Linked DNA regions of Homo sapiens: all the other regions are linked to region 3. Evidence: promoter capture Hi-C in 16 types of primary human blood cells and fetal thymus (Javierre and others, 2016). All regions are on one chromosome and are shown on one strand. Each heading gives the region's core, a stretch centred on a gene start or on the middle of the fragment in contact. The rest is flanking DNA. Distances are from core to core; before and after follow the strand shown. Region 1 overlaps G2E3 (G2/M-phase specific E3 ubiquitin protein ligase). Region 2 overlaps G2E3 (G2/M-phase specific E3 ubiquitin protein ligase). Region 3 holds the start of ARHGAP5-AS1 (ARHGAP5 antisense RNA 1 (head to head)).

Region 1 (4,100 bases), core at 746-3,245, 1.5 Mb before region 3:
CTACATATAAGATCATGCCTTCTTTGAATAGAGTTACTTCTTGCTTTCTTGCTTTATTATTCTGAATAGACCTTCTGGTTCAGTGTTGACTACAAGTGGTGGAAGTGTGTATCTTTGTTTTGTTCCAGATCTTAGGTGGAAAGTGTGCAGTCTTTCACTGATAATTATGTTAATTACAGGTTTTTCCATAGATGCTGAGGAAGTTCCCTTATATTCCTAAATGTTTGAGTGTTTTTATCATCAATGAGTTGTATTTTGTCAAATGCTTTTTCTGCATCTATTGAGATGAGCATGTGACCTTTTCCTTTTTCTCTATTAGTATGGTATATTATATTGGTTGATTTCCATATGCTGAACCACCTTTGCATTTCTGGGATAAATCCCACTTGGTTATGGTACAAAATTTTCTTTATCAGAATCAGTTTGCTGGTAGTTTGTTAAGGATATTTGCATCTATGTTCATAAGAGATAATTGGCTTGTAGTTTTATTTTCTGTGATGTCTTTTTCTGGCTTTGGTATCGGGGTATTGGTGGCTTCATAAAATGAGTTAGGAAGTGTCATAATATCTTTTGGAGGGGTTTGAGAAAGATTGGTGCCAATTTTTCTTCAAAGGTTTAATAGGGTTCACCAGTGAACCCATCTGGGCTAGGACTTTATTCGTTGGGAGGTTCTTCATTAGTGATTCAATCTCTTGTTTGTAGATTTGTTGAAATTTTCTATTTCTTCTTGTCACTTTTGTTATTTGTTTAACCTATTGTTTAATTTGTTAACTTTTAACTTCTTAGAGTACAATTGTTCATAATAGTCTCATTTAATTCTTTTTATTTGTATTAGGTCTGTAGCAGTGTCCCACTTTCATTTCTTCTGATTTAGTAATTTGAGTCTTCTCTTTTTTTTCTCTGGGTCATCTAACTAAACGTTTTCAATTTTGTCGATCTTCTCAAGCAATTTTTATTTTATTGATTCTCAATTTAAAAATTTTTTTATTACATTATCTGGACTCTAAATTATTTCCTTCCTTCTGCTAGCTTTGGGTTTAGTTTGGTCTTTTTCTAGTTTCTTTGGGCATATAGTTGGGTCATTGTTTTGGGGGCTTGATTTTATTTGTCTCTAAGTATTTTCTAATTTCCCTTGTGATTTCTTTTTTGACTTTTTGTCTATTTAAAGTTGTTATTTAATCTCCATATGTTTCTCAGTTTTCCAGTTTTCCTTTTATTGATTTCTAGTTTCATTCCATAGTCATTGGAGAGGATATTTTGTGTGATTTCAGTCTTGTAAAATGTATTATTTTGTGGTCTAACATGGTATATCCATGGATATTGTTCCACGTGCATTTGAGAAGAATGTTTCATTCTGTTGTAGGGTGGAGTGTTCTGTATATGTTAAGTCTAAACTATTTCTCCTTTCATTTCTGTCAAATTTTGCCTTGTATATTTTGGGGCTCTTATTAGGTGGGTTTGTGTTTATAATTGTCATGTCTTCTTGATGGATTGAACTTTTTAGTCAGTCTTTAATGTCCTTTGAGTCCTGTAACAATCTTCAACTTAAAGCCTGTTTTGTCTGACATTAGTATAAACACCCAAGCTTACTTTTGATTACTGTTTGTATGAAGTATCTTATTCTGTCATTTTACTTTCCATCTATTTGTGTTTTGATATCTATAGCTTGACCCTAGTAGATAGTGTATGTATGGATTTTAAAAAAATTCATTCTGTCAACCTTTGCCTTTTAATTGGAGCGTGTAATTCATTTACATTTAATTACTGTTAAGGAAGGATTTCTGACATTTTAGTATTTGTTTTCTAAATACTATCTTTCTGTTCCTCATTTCCTTCCTTATTGCCTTTTGTTTAATTGATTTGTATAGTGTACCATTTTGATTCCCTTCTCATTACCTTTTCTGCACATATTTTTTAGTTATATTCTTAGTGGCTATCTTGGGGATTACAATTAATATCTTAAACTTATAACAACCTAGTTTGAATTAATACCCACTCAGCTTTCATAGTATACAAAAATTACACTTCTGTATATCTCATCCTTCTTCCTAAATGTTATTGTGTCAAATTACATTTTATATTTTTTGCTTATTTTACATTTATACATAATGTGCCCAATAACATTGATTTATATTTATTTTACGTGTTTTTCTTTTAAATCATAAAGGAAAAAGAGAATTACCAAAAGTGCAATAATACTACTGGCTTTTATATTTACTTCTGTAATTACCTTTACTGGTGTTTTTATTTCCTCGTATGGCTTTGACTTACTGTCTGGTGTCCCATTAGCATCTCTAGTAGGACAGATCTACTAAAAGTTTCCCTTTCACCCTAGACCCCAGGTCTACCAGACCTTCTGAGAAACAGCCATTCTTGTCTGTCTCCTGGATGATTTTCCAGAGAATATAAGCTTTTAAGAAACTTTTTATTGAGGTATAATATATATGCCAAATATATTTTAAGTACATAATTATGTTCATTGTAAAAAGTCAAACAATGCCAAAATTTATAAGAAATTAAAAGAAAAAGCCCCTACCCCTTCTCTCTCCCCAGGGATAACCACCATTAACAGTTAGGGACCTAAAAACTTTATGGTCTTTCTTGATCTCAGAAACTTCTGATCTTTCTGAATTCCTTTCACCCTTCCTTCTCTCCATCGAATTACTTCTCCTGCTTTGCATATAAGAACCCTAATAGGTAGGTATTATCATCTCCATTGGACACAAGGCAGAGCAAGGAGTTCAAACACAGAAAATGTATAATTCAAGTGTAATGTTCTTTCTGCCATGTTCCTCTGCCTGGGTCCTGCCTGGAATCTTAAAAGTTTAATTGCTCTGTCACATAAGGTAGCAGATACATTGTCCTGTTAAAATATAATTAAGGCCTTATTTTTTAGACAGGAGAAGACCTGGTTCTGTGGGAGTTGTGACAGAATAGCCTTTATTGCCTGAACTGTAGTAAAAAAGATGCCACCTGCTTTAAGAAGGGTACTTTGGATTGGGCTGGTTATTTAGAGCCTGACTTGGTCAGTGGAAGGGGCTAGGACTGGAATAAGACCTGCCCACGAAGTCAGGGTTAGGACCAGCTGGTGAAGGGGGGGGATTATATTACTTACTATCTGATAATCCAATCCAAGGAGATTTATATAATCCAACCAAATGGCAGAATCAGCAAGAGCAACTTCCAGAAGAAATTCCTGACATTCCCCAAACATCCCAGGCTTTCACACACTGTTGTACCTTTGCACACACTCTACTTAGAATGCTTTTTCTGCCTTGTCTGCTCAGAATATTTATTTTTCACAATTACGTTATAATATCACCACCTCTGTAAGGCTACACTGCATGTGTGTGAAATATTTGTTTACTTGCCTGCCTCCCATGTGAGTATGTGTACTCATCTTCACTTTTGAAACATAGTTTTGCTGCAGATAGGATTCTTTGCTTACAGGTTTGGGTTTTTTTCCTGTCTTTCAGCACTTTAAATATGTCATCTCACTGCCTTCTGGAACTCTATGGTTTCAAATGAGAATTTGGCTCTTAATCTTATTGGGGATATTTTGTATGTGTTAATCACTTCTCTCTTGCTGCTTTCAAGATTCTTTGTCTTTGTTTTTGTCAGTTTGACTATACTGTGTCTCAATGTGGATCTCCTAGAATTTGTCCTGATTAAAGATCTTGAGCTTCTTAAAAATGTGTAGATTGAAGTCTTACCTGTATAGATTTCAGTCTTCCATGAAATTTGGGAAGTTTTTGGCTATTATTTCTTCAAACATTCTTTCTGTTCCACTTTCTCCGGTCCCTCTTGGACTCCTATTAAGCATATATTGGTATACTTGATGGTGTCTCATAGTCTCTTGGGCTCTGTTTATTTTTCATTTTTTTTCTTTCTGCTCTTCAGACTGGATAATTTCAACTAACCTGTCTTCAAGTTCGCTGATTCTTTCTCCTGCCTGCTCAAACGTGCTGTTAAACCTCTGTAATGAATTTATTATTTCAGTTATTGTACTTTTCAGCTGCAGAATTTCTATTTCCTTTTTATCATTTCTACTTCTTTATTGATATTCTCTATTTGTTGAGACATTGTTGATTGTGAGTTTT
Region 2 (3,958 bases), core at 958-3,457, 1.5 Mb before region 3:
TTTTCATCATCACTTTGAACAAACTAGTTAGCTTCTTGACCTAATAAAATTTATGATATGAATATAAAGGAATATTATAGCCACTTAGGCTAAAAAAAGGTTTTTTTTGTTAAAGCATACTAGTCAAAATTGGTGATAATTTCTCATTTTCTTGATATAGATACTTCATAAACCTCAATATAAATACTCTCAAAATGGTTGTATGGATTTTATTTAGGTATGGTAGCATGGTTAATAAAAGTAAAAACTGTTTTACTCACATTTTTTGTAAATTAGGATTACATATAGAATGCCACAATTTCTCTAGGTTTATTCAATTTTCAAATTATTCCTCATTTTATTTTAAAGCATTAAATAGAAAAGCTAATTGGTTAAATTTTGTTATATAAATCAGAGTCATATATTCTGGGATTTGTGTTACTATGCATACTTTTCTAGGATGTCACCAAATTAGTTGTTTAAAATGTTTTTAGATTACTGATTTATATTAAGATGACCCACACTGCAATTAGATTATGCCTAGTGGGAAGTATTATATAAAAAGCAGAATTAAGCTGGGCACATGTGCTTGTAATCTCAGTTATAAGGGAGGCTGAGGTGGGAGAATCGAGATACTCAGCCAGCCTGGCAATGTAGCAAAGACTCCATCTCAAAAAAAAAAACAGAATTGCACAAATTTTCTGGAATCTATGGACATTCCATGAGCTTAAACACTTTTGAGGTGGATAACATTTAGTTGAAAATACCTAAGAAAGTGTGTCTTCTTTAAAGCCTTGGCTTTAATCATGGGAAATTGTTGTTGTTGTTGTTGTTGTTTGTATCCTATGTTTGGTATTCTGTATGTCTGATCCATAATCATTTTAGATATTTGAATGATCTCTGTGGATTGGTAGGTTTGGCCATTTGACCATTATTTATTATCAAGTTGGTTGTATGCTAAGGTAAGTTGACGCCATAGCATTATACAGTTATCTTCATTGCTCTTGAATGATATCTGTTATATAAGCAATGTATAAATAAAGTAAAAAGGATAGAATGAAAAACCCATTCTAATGTCACCACTCAGAGATAAGTACCGTATTTCTGTGTATCCTTCTATAAACTCTTTACTTCTGTTTCCTTTATTTTTTAACTTTAATAATGCTACTAAAAGACAATACCTAAAAGTAACTGTACTAACAAAGTGCTAACAATGTGAAAATATATAGTCCCATAGTCATGTCCCCATATTTATACTCCCACAGAAGAAAAAATTGGAAAACAAAGTCTGATGTCCTTAATCTATTAACATATTTAAATGATATAATGGTTCAGTTTTCCATGAAAGTAAATCATTATGGGAAGTAAAATGTTTTAACCATATTTTTCTTAATACACAAAGCAGGTGTCAGCTGTTGTATTCTCACCCTTCTTAAGAAAAATCATTACATTATTGATATTTTTTAAGTAACAGAATAGATTTGAAAGAGATAATATATCTCTTAATACCAAAGGAAAACTAAAACATAATTCTAGTGTACTTTTCTTTGTTCCCTCATGTCTTTTTCAATCTGTACACTAACATACCTAGCAAATTTGTTTTACTTTAACTTGAAATATTTAAGAACATTAAACAAGACATTTCTTTGGCTTTGGTTGAATTTTTTTGTCTCACCAATAGTAATTGAAAGATCAATTATCAAAGAGTTTGAATAGCTAATATAAACCCCAAAGTCACCATACAGTTTTTATTCCAAATATGTTGATAAAAAGATATTTGTTTCTTTATCCACCTTATTTTTATTACAGCTAAAAACCAATACAAACCAATAAAACCTAGTTAAAGCTATTTTCTGGTTTTTAGTTGCAATTAATTTCCCCTAGGGTAGAAATTAAAGCTGATTAAGTCACACACACATACTTTGTTGGGGTGGGGGTGGCAGGTGGAGAGGCAGTGTACTTGGGTTAGCTACAATTAAAAACAGTATTTCAATTCCTCATTTGACTTATTTTATATATAGACAGGGCCTTAGTGATAAGATGGTGTAAATAATTTAGGATATTCATGTTTTAAAGTGAAGCATAAATATTTATTTTGCAAAATGTTTTCTAGTTTGAAGGATGTTCCATTATTACCATTTTTAGATTAATCTGTATGGTCAAGGAATATCAGAGAAACCTGTAGGTTATTTATTTTCTGCAGTGTCATTTTGTCAAATGGTTGGTATTATAATTGTTCTTTTCTTATTAATTTTATAACCAGTGCATAATTCTTACATTAGATTTTAAAAAAGAATTATGCTATAAATCTTTATAAATGTGTACATATATTTCTTAAATATTGCAATTGCCTAAATGTTGTATATTTTAAGGCTGTTTTCTCTTGCTCTTAATGTTGAGGAAAACTATAAATTGATCTATAATGCATCTACTGTTAATGGTTTTGGTTAGTTTGATATTCATTGTTTTTAAACACTTTCCAATATGGAAACTTTAACACCTTTTATACAATTCTCTACTATTCAAGATATTCTTTAAAATATCTCACCAGAAACTTACAATTTTATACTTTGTAATTTTTAGTTTCTGTAATTTGAGGAAGTGACTTTTTTTGTTTGGGTTAAGTAAAAAGCCTTTGATTGATTACCAGCATGAGAATTCACCTTGGTTTCTATTTTATGCATTTGTAAATTTTTCCCCTAATTATATGGAAGCTATTGGAACTTTTGTATTCAGTGCTAAATACTAAGTCAAGGGGAGTATATTAGGTAAGTTTTTTCAGTGACTGTGCCTTTAGCATTCAGTCATTATAAGAAAATGATCAGAACAAAATCATTACATTATAAACATGTAATTCTTTTATATAGTGATTATCATGTACTGCATTGTTACTTTAAAATAAGCTATTAAACTAGTTTTTATGGTTCAAGTAATGCAATACAAAGTTTCATGCTTCAAGTAATGCAATACAAAACATAACCCATTTAATGATGAATTACTTGAATGTATATTATCTGTGGTTTAGGAAAATTTGGATTGTCTTGAAGAGACTCAGTTTTCAAGTTCTGATTTTGACCATTATCTCTTCTAATTCATAAACATATCCCAGTACCTACACTATGCCAGGTATTATGCTAGGTGATCGTTTATATGTCAGCCTATTTCCCCCCCTTTTAAAGACTGCCAGATTAACCAAAAAGCGTGACATTTATAACAATGTTTTATAAATAAATAAATGTGTTTATGCCACTAAAGGTAAACTGCCTATTTAAACTAAGTAATTTTTTGGGATTTAATAAGATTAAGATTCTGACGAAACTGAAAGATACAAGATTCCTTTACTCTCCACATTTGAGAGATCCTATAAGCAAGCAGTTAGTGTCTGACACCCAGGAACCTATAGAAATGAGGGAATCTGTGTTAAAACTATGTATCCTCTAATGTAAAATAGCTTACCAGAATAAATTATTTAAGCCAAAAATCTGGACTCAGATAAATGGCTATAGTAAATTAGGTTAATGAACAATCTGTAGCCATAGATTATTTTCAGTCTTTCTGATTCTAATAAAACAAATACCTTATTCAGTCTCAGCCTTACAAGGGCTATTTGTCTATGGTTGCTGTTCTTCTGTGAGGTGTATTTTTCTATAAATTTATTGCCCACATTCTGTGCACTTGGTCAGGAGTTTTTATCATTTCATATATATGCAGTGTACATCAATTTTAAAATTGTCTTCGTGGTTTTAACATGACTCATAGTCTTGGGAGAGAATCTGTGATGGAACTGAAGTGGCTCAATGATGGATTTGCATTTGAAAGTGGAAGTACCCAAATGAGCAAAATTGGGCTCTCAGACATTTTATATTTCATAGAGACTGTAGAATGCAGTAGAACTTTCCCATAGGGCAGAAATAATTTGTTTAGTTGGAACACACCTAGATCATTGAAGATTCCTTCAAAATATTAGTAATAGTACTGA
Region 3 (4,194 bases), core at 822-3,321:
AGAAAATAAATGAGATTTCAAGTCTTCCCTGCCTCCAGTATCATGTCCTATAACTGAACATTACACCTTTTTAACGTTTTCTTTAGAAGCCCTGATTTATTTGGCTTTGGTTTATGTTGATACATGTCCATGATTATTAAAATTTCTGATTATTTAGGACATAATTTTTAAGGTATCTTTAGGGTGTACACTCTATAGTACTTAACATCTTATTCAGGTTATGACTTTGAACTGCATCATTATAACACTAAAAAGCAACCTTGGCTAACTTCAGTACCTTACGTAACATAAGAAATAAAGAATAACTTGAACTTAAAATACTTTTTATATGTTTACTTCGGGTATTCTTAAGGGCTTTCAGTACAAAGATAAAAACATGCGTTGGAATGCATCAACATTCCAACTTACATAAGTGGTGTAGATACCTATGGCATTAGTACCACATTTTGATGGTTGGACCACCCACCAAATTCCCTTCTCTCCTTTTTTACTTCTTTTTCTTTCTGTTTGCTTTCCTTGCAAGTTTCCTTCCGCATCCTTCTTTCCCACCTACAATTTGTAACTGAAAGAAAGAAGTAGCTACAGACCTTACCTAACCTACTCTTAACCTACTTGGTAGGTAGGGTTCAGATGCAAGGGAGTGGCTCGAATAAAGCATTTTAGTTATGCCTTTTAGAAATTAGGGAGCAAGAGATATATAGAAAAATTAGAAATGTCTCTTCTACCTTTATTAAGTCTACCTTTGAGAAATATGAAGGGCAGGAAGACGGAAAAACGAACAGAACTTCTGCTGGAATATTGTGACAAATTTACTGACAAATATTTTCTAATAGATTTTTACCAACAGGCAGTTTTTGTTTTCTTTACTGACAGACCGTAAATGTACTTCTGGTTGGCAGCAGCTGCATCATTATAACACAAAAGCAACCTTGGCTAACTTCAGTACCTTATGTAACATAAGAAATAAAGAATAACTTGAATTTAAAATACTTTTTATATGTTTACTAACATTAAACTATTTTCAATGCAGGAAATAAATATTTCCCCAAAGAGGAATCCCCCCTCAATTACTTTCTTTCAGACTTAACAAATTGGAGTAGATGTGGTTTTGCTCATTCTTTTATCTGCTGGCAACTATTTTAAGTCTCCTGTGCAAGGCAGATTCCGATGACCTCGGGAAAGTCACAGGACCTCAGTTTCTTCAATGGTAAAAGCAAAGGCAGTGGTTTCTACCGTCCTTTCTCACTGCACCATTCAGCGTCAGTGCCCTCATGAGAAACACACCCAAAGCCCAGTGTGCTCTACCCCAAAACTTGTGAAATTTCTAGAGTCTCAAAAAAGTGAATATGTTTAAGGCAGTATAATAAAAGCCAGGTGGACGACAGTTCCTAAAGTTAGGCTGGTAGTGGCGTGAACAGGGGTCTTTTGGGCCACCCTGAGACCCGCCCCACGGGGCTTCTCGATCCACGTCTTGGCTTCTCGCTCCACTTTCACAGAACGTACTGAATCAGGGGCCTGCATCCCCGTGCCGTGCCGAGCCGACGGAGAAATGGACTCCTCTTCTCGCTCCTGTGGAGTTTCGTCTTCTGGGTGAGTGTGGCACCGGGTCCTGGGCGGGTGATGTCTGTAGTTGGCGAGCGATCCTCAGCCAGAAAACTGGCTGCGCACACAGGCGCAGACACGCGAACATGTTCCTGCGAACGAGCTTGGGCGCATGTTTTCCTCCCTTGCTTTCTTTAATGCTCAGAGACCATAAGGGGATTTATCGAGAAGCATTCGGTGCCCATGCCCGGTTTGGAACCGCGAGCACAATATCTGGTTCCTTTGCAGTACGGTGGTTTGCTCTTGAGTTACGACCAGAAACCGGAACAGAAGGAAAGGGAGAAGCAGGGGAGGTTCGGGGACGACGGCGCTCCGGGCAGTAAGGCAGTAGCTTCCAAAGCGTGGAGGATGGGACTGAGGAGGAGCAGAATACGGAGAAAGAGGGAAGCTGAGGAAAAATACTCACGCCAATGGGTAAAAGGGAAAAGGTGAGAAGGAATGGAGTAGGGGAGGGAACCAATGGTGGGAGAGGCGGAGGAAGAAGGGGGAGGGGTAGAAGCCAATGGGGGAGTGGAGGGGAGGGAGAAGCAGAGGGGAGGAGGGAGCGGGGACGCGAGCGAGGACGCGGCCCCGCGCGCTCGTCCCCCTCCCTCCGACTGGATAGCTCGCGCCTTCCCAGGCTCCCGGGAGACGAGGGCAGGGGCGGGGCCGTGCCGGGTGCGCGGCGCGGGAGGCGTCGCGAGGTGAAGGGGCGGGGACGGGGGATTGTGGGGAGGGCAGCGCGGGTTCGCGCGCGCGCGCGCGTCCCGTCCAGGCTGCGCCGCCGCGCCGCCGCTCCGCCCCCGGTCGGGTGTGTGGCTGCGCGCGCCGGGAGAGATGCTGAGGTAAAGTTCGGGAGAGAGGGAGAGAAATCCGTCAGCGCGAGGGAGCCCGAGTGGCCGCCATTACTGAGCCCGGCGCGGCGGCGGGCGCTGGGGAAGGGGGGAGGGACGGGCCGCCGCTGGTGGCGGGGAGGGAGGGAGGGAGGGTGGGTGAGCTGGCTGCGGGAGCCGTGGGGCTCAGGGTTTCGGGGCGTGTGTGTCGGGGAGGGCGGGGGGAGGTGGCTGAAGGGACGCGCCGCTCGGTGAGCGCGCCGAGGAAGAGAGGCGAGCGGAGAGTGGAGGAGGAGGCGGCGGCGGCGGGAGCGGTCCCCAGGAATGTCGCTGCCGCCGCCACCGCCGGGGCCGCTGCCGTTGAGGAGGAGACGGAGGAGACCGACGTTGTTAGGTAGGACCTTGCGGACCCCGCTCCTCCAAGCCTGCCTGCCCCCTCCCGGACGGGGACCCTCCTGCGGCTAGCTGCCCCGCTCGGTCGCCGCTGCCGGTTGTAACCAGTTGAAGGGGCTGGGGCCCCGCGGCCGCCGAGGGGAGCCTGGCGCTGCGCTCGGTTTTCGCAGGCCGGGCGGGCAGCAGCTGCAGCGTTAGGGATACGTTCGGCGTGAAGGGCAGAGAGGCCGGGGGAGGGGGTGCTTTCTCCACAGGTGACGGGGCCAGGGTCGGCGGAGGCCTGATGCTGGCCGGGGATCGCCGGCCCCGCCAGGCGTCCGCTCTCGCCCGCCGCCTCACTTGCTCGAGTCTCGGGTGGTCCGTCGAGAGGGGAGGTGGCGGTGTCCGTTGGCCGGGTTGCTGCTGTTAACGAGTTCCACCTGGAAAGGGTACACGGGGCGGGTGCAGATTCGCGGAAACACAGTCTCGGTTGCAAACTTAAACGCCTTGTAGGGGGGATCGGCCCTTTCACTTTCCCTCATCTCCTCGACTCCTCCCTGGGTTCTCTTCACCAATTTTCCATCTGCTTTGAAGCTTGGAGTAAGATATGAGAAGTTGCACTGCGCATCCAGAGCCCAGAGTCCTATGGGCTGACTGCGACTGGGTTGAGGCTTTGATACTGAGTTTTCGCTAGAATAACCTCCAGATTCTTCCTCTCTTTCCACTAAAGAAAAGTATCGGGGTGGGGGTGGGGAGCCGCGCGGGAGCGCGCGCGCACTTATCCACACAGAAATACTCCCTCTCACCCTCCCTCTTCAGCGTTATTAGAAATGCAAGAGAGCTGGAGGCTCGGGGTGTAGCTGAGGTTGAAAGGTGCACGGAAGTAAGGGCAAACTGTTATTAGGCCGTTTAGTAAAATCCCGAAAAAGTTGTAGGGGAGACGCTTATACTTCTACCATGTGATAGAAATTCGGATTTGGCCATCGCTTAATAAATGGGAATTCAAATATTTTGAGATAGAGCAAGATAGGCATATAGATGGGTTTGTGCTTACGTTTTAAGTTTAAATTCTTATCGATCATTTATTTTTTCCTTTGTGATAGGCAGGAAACTGAATTTTTTTTTAAATGTTCAGGTGTAAAACAGCAAAATGCTTCGCTGTATTTACTAGTACTTGCTTATGTTGCTTTCTACAGGTAGGGGCGGGGGGCGAGTTTGTCAATTCCACTTAAATCCAGAACCAGTATTCAGTTAGAATGTTAGGTGGTGTTTATCCGCATGAAGGATCTCGTTCACTTCATGGGAGCTTGCTCTACATTTCCACTTAAAATGGTTCTCCTAACAAAAATTTCATCTAGATGCAGCGATTAGACATTTGGAATAATGTTTGGTTTAAAAATACGTTAAT

The links. The method cuts DNA at HindIII sites, captures the fragments that hold promoters and counts their contacts. A CHiCAGO score of 5 or more calls a contact.
Region 1: a contact is called between a fragment that was not itself captured here and the fragment with the promoter of ARHGAP5-AS1 in region 3, in 2 of 17 cell types (activated CD4 T cells and total B cells). The highest score is 6.0, in activated CD4 T cells.
Region 2: a fragment that was not itself captured here is called in contact with the fragment with the promoter of ARHGAP5-AS1 in region 3 in 2 of 17 cell types (fetal thymus and naive CD8 T cells); the score reaches 11.5 in fetal thymus.

What each region holds. Positions count from the first base shown.
Region 1 is chr14:30,566,649-30,570,748 of GRCh38, forward strand. The region is part of intron 1 of G2E3 (G2/M-phase specific E3 ubiquitin protein ligase); the gene reads left to right. All of the region lies in intron 2 of G2E3-AS1 (G2E3 antisense RNA 1), which reads right to left. Among named protein-coding and RNA genes, the nearest start is that of G2E3-AS1, 8.7 kb to the right of the region's middle. The HindIII fragment of the contact is 825 bases long and covers 1,584-2,408 here.
Region 2 is chr14:30,616,605-30,620,562 of GRCh38, forward strand. It overlaps G2E3 (G2/M-phase specific E3 ubiquitin protein ligase), which reads left to right. Exons shown (of 15, transcript NM_017769.5): 15 at 1-3,460. Among named protein-coding and RNA genes, the nearest start is that of SCFD1, 3.7 kb to the right of the region's middle. The HindIII fragment of the contact is 4,510 bases long and covers 1-3,958 here.
Region 3 is chr14:32,074,628-32,078,821 of GRCh38, forward strand. It overlaps ARHGAP5-AS1 (ARHGAP5 antisense RNA 1 (head to head)), which reads right to left and starts at 2,072. Exons shown (of 1, transcript NR_027263.1): 1 at 792-2,072. ARHGAP5 (Rho GTPase activating protein 5) reads left to right here and starts at 2,677. Exons shown (of 7, transcript NM_001030055.2): 1 at 2,677-2,808. RefSeq lists silencers at 2,098-2,357, 2,718-2,937, 2,736-3,030. The HindIII fragment of the contact is 3,747 bases long and covers 1-3,378 here.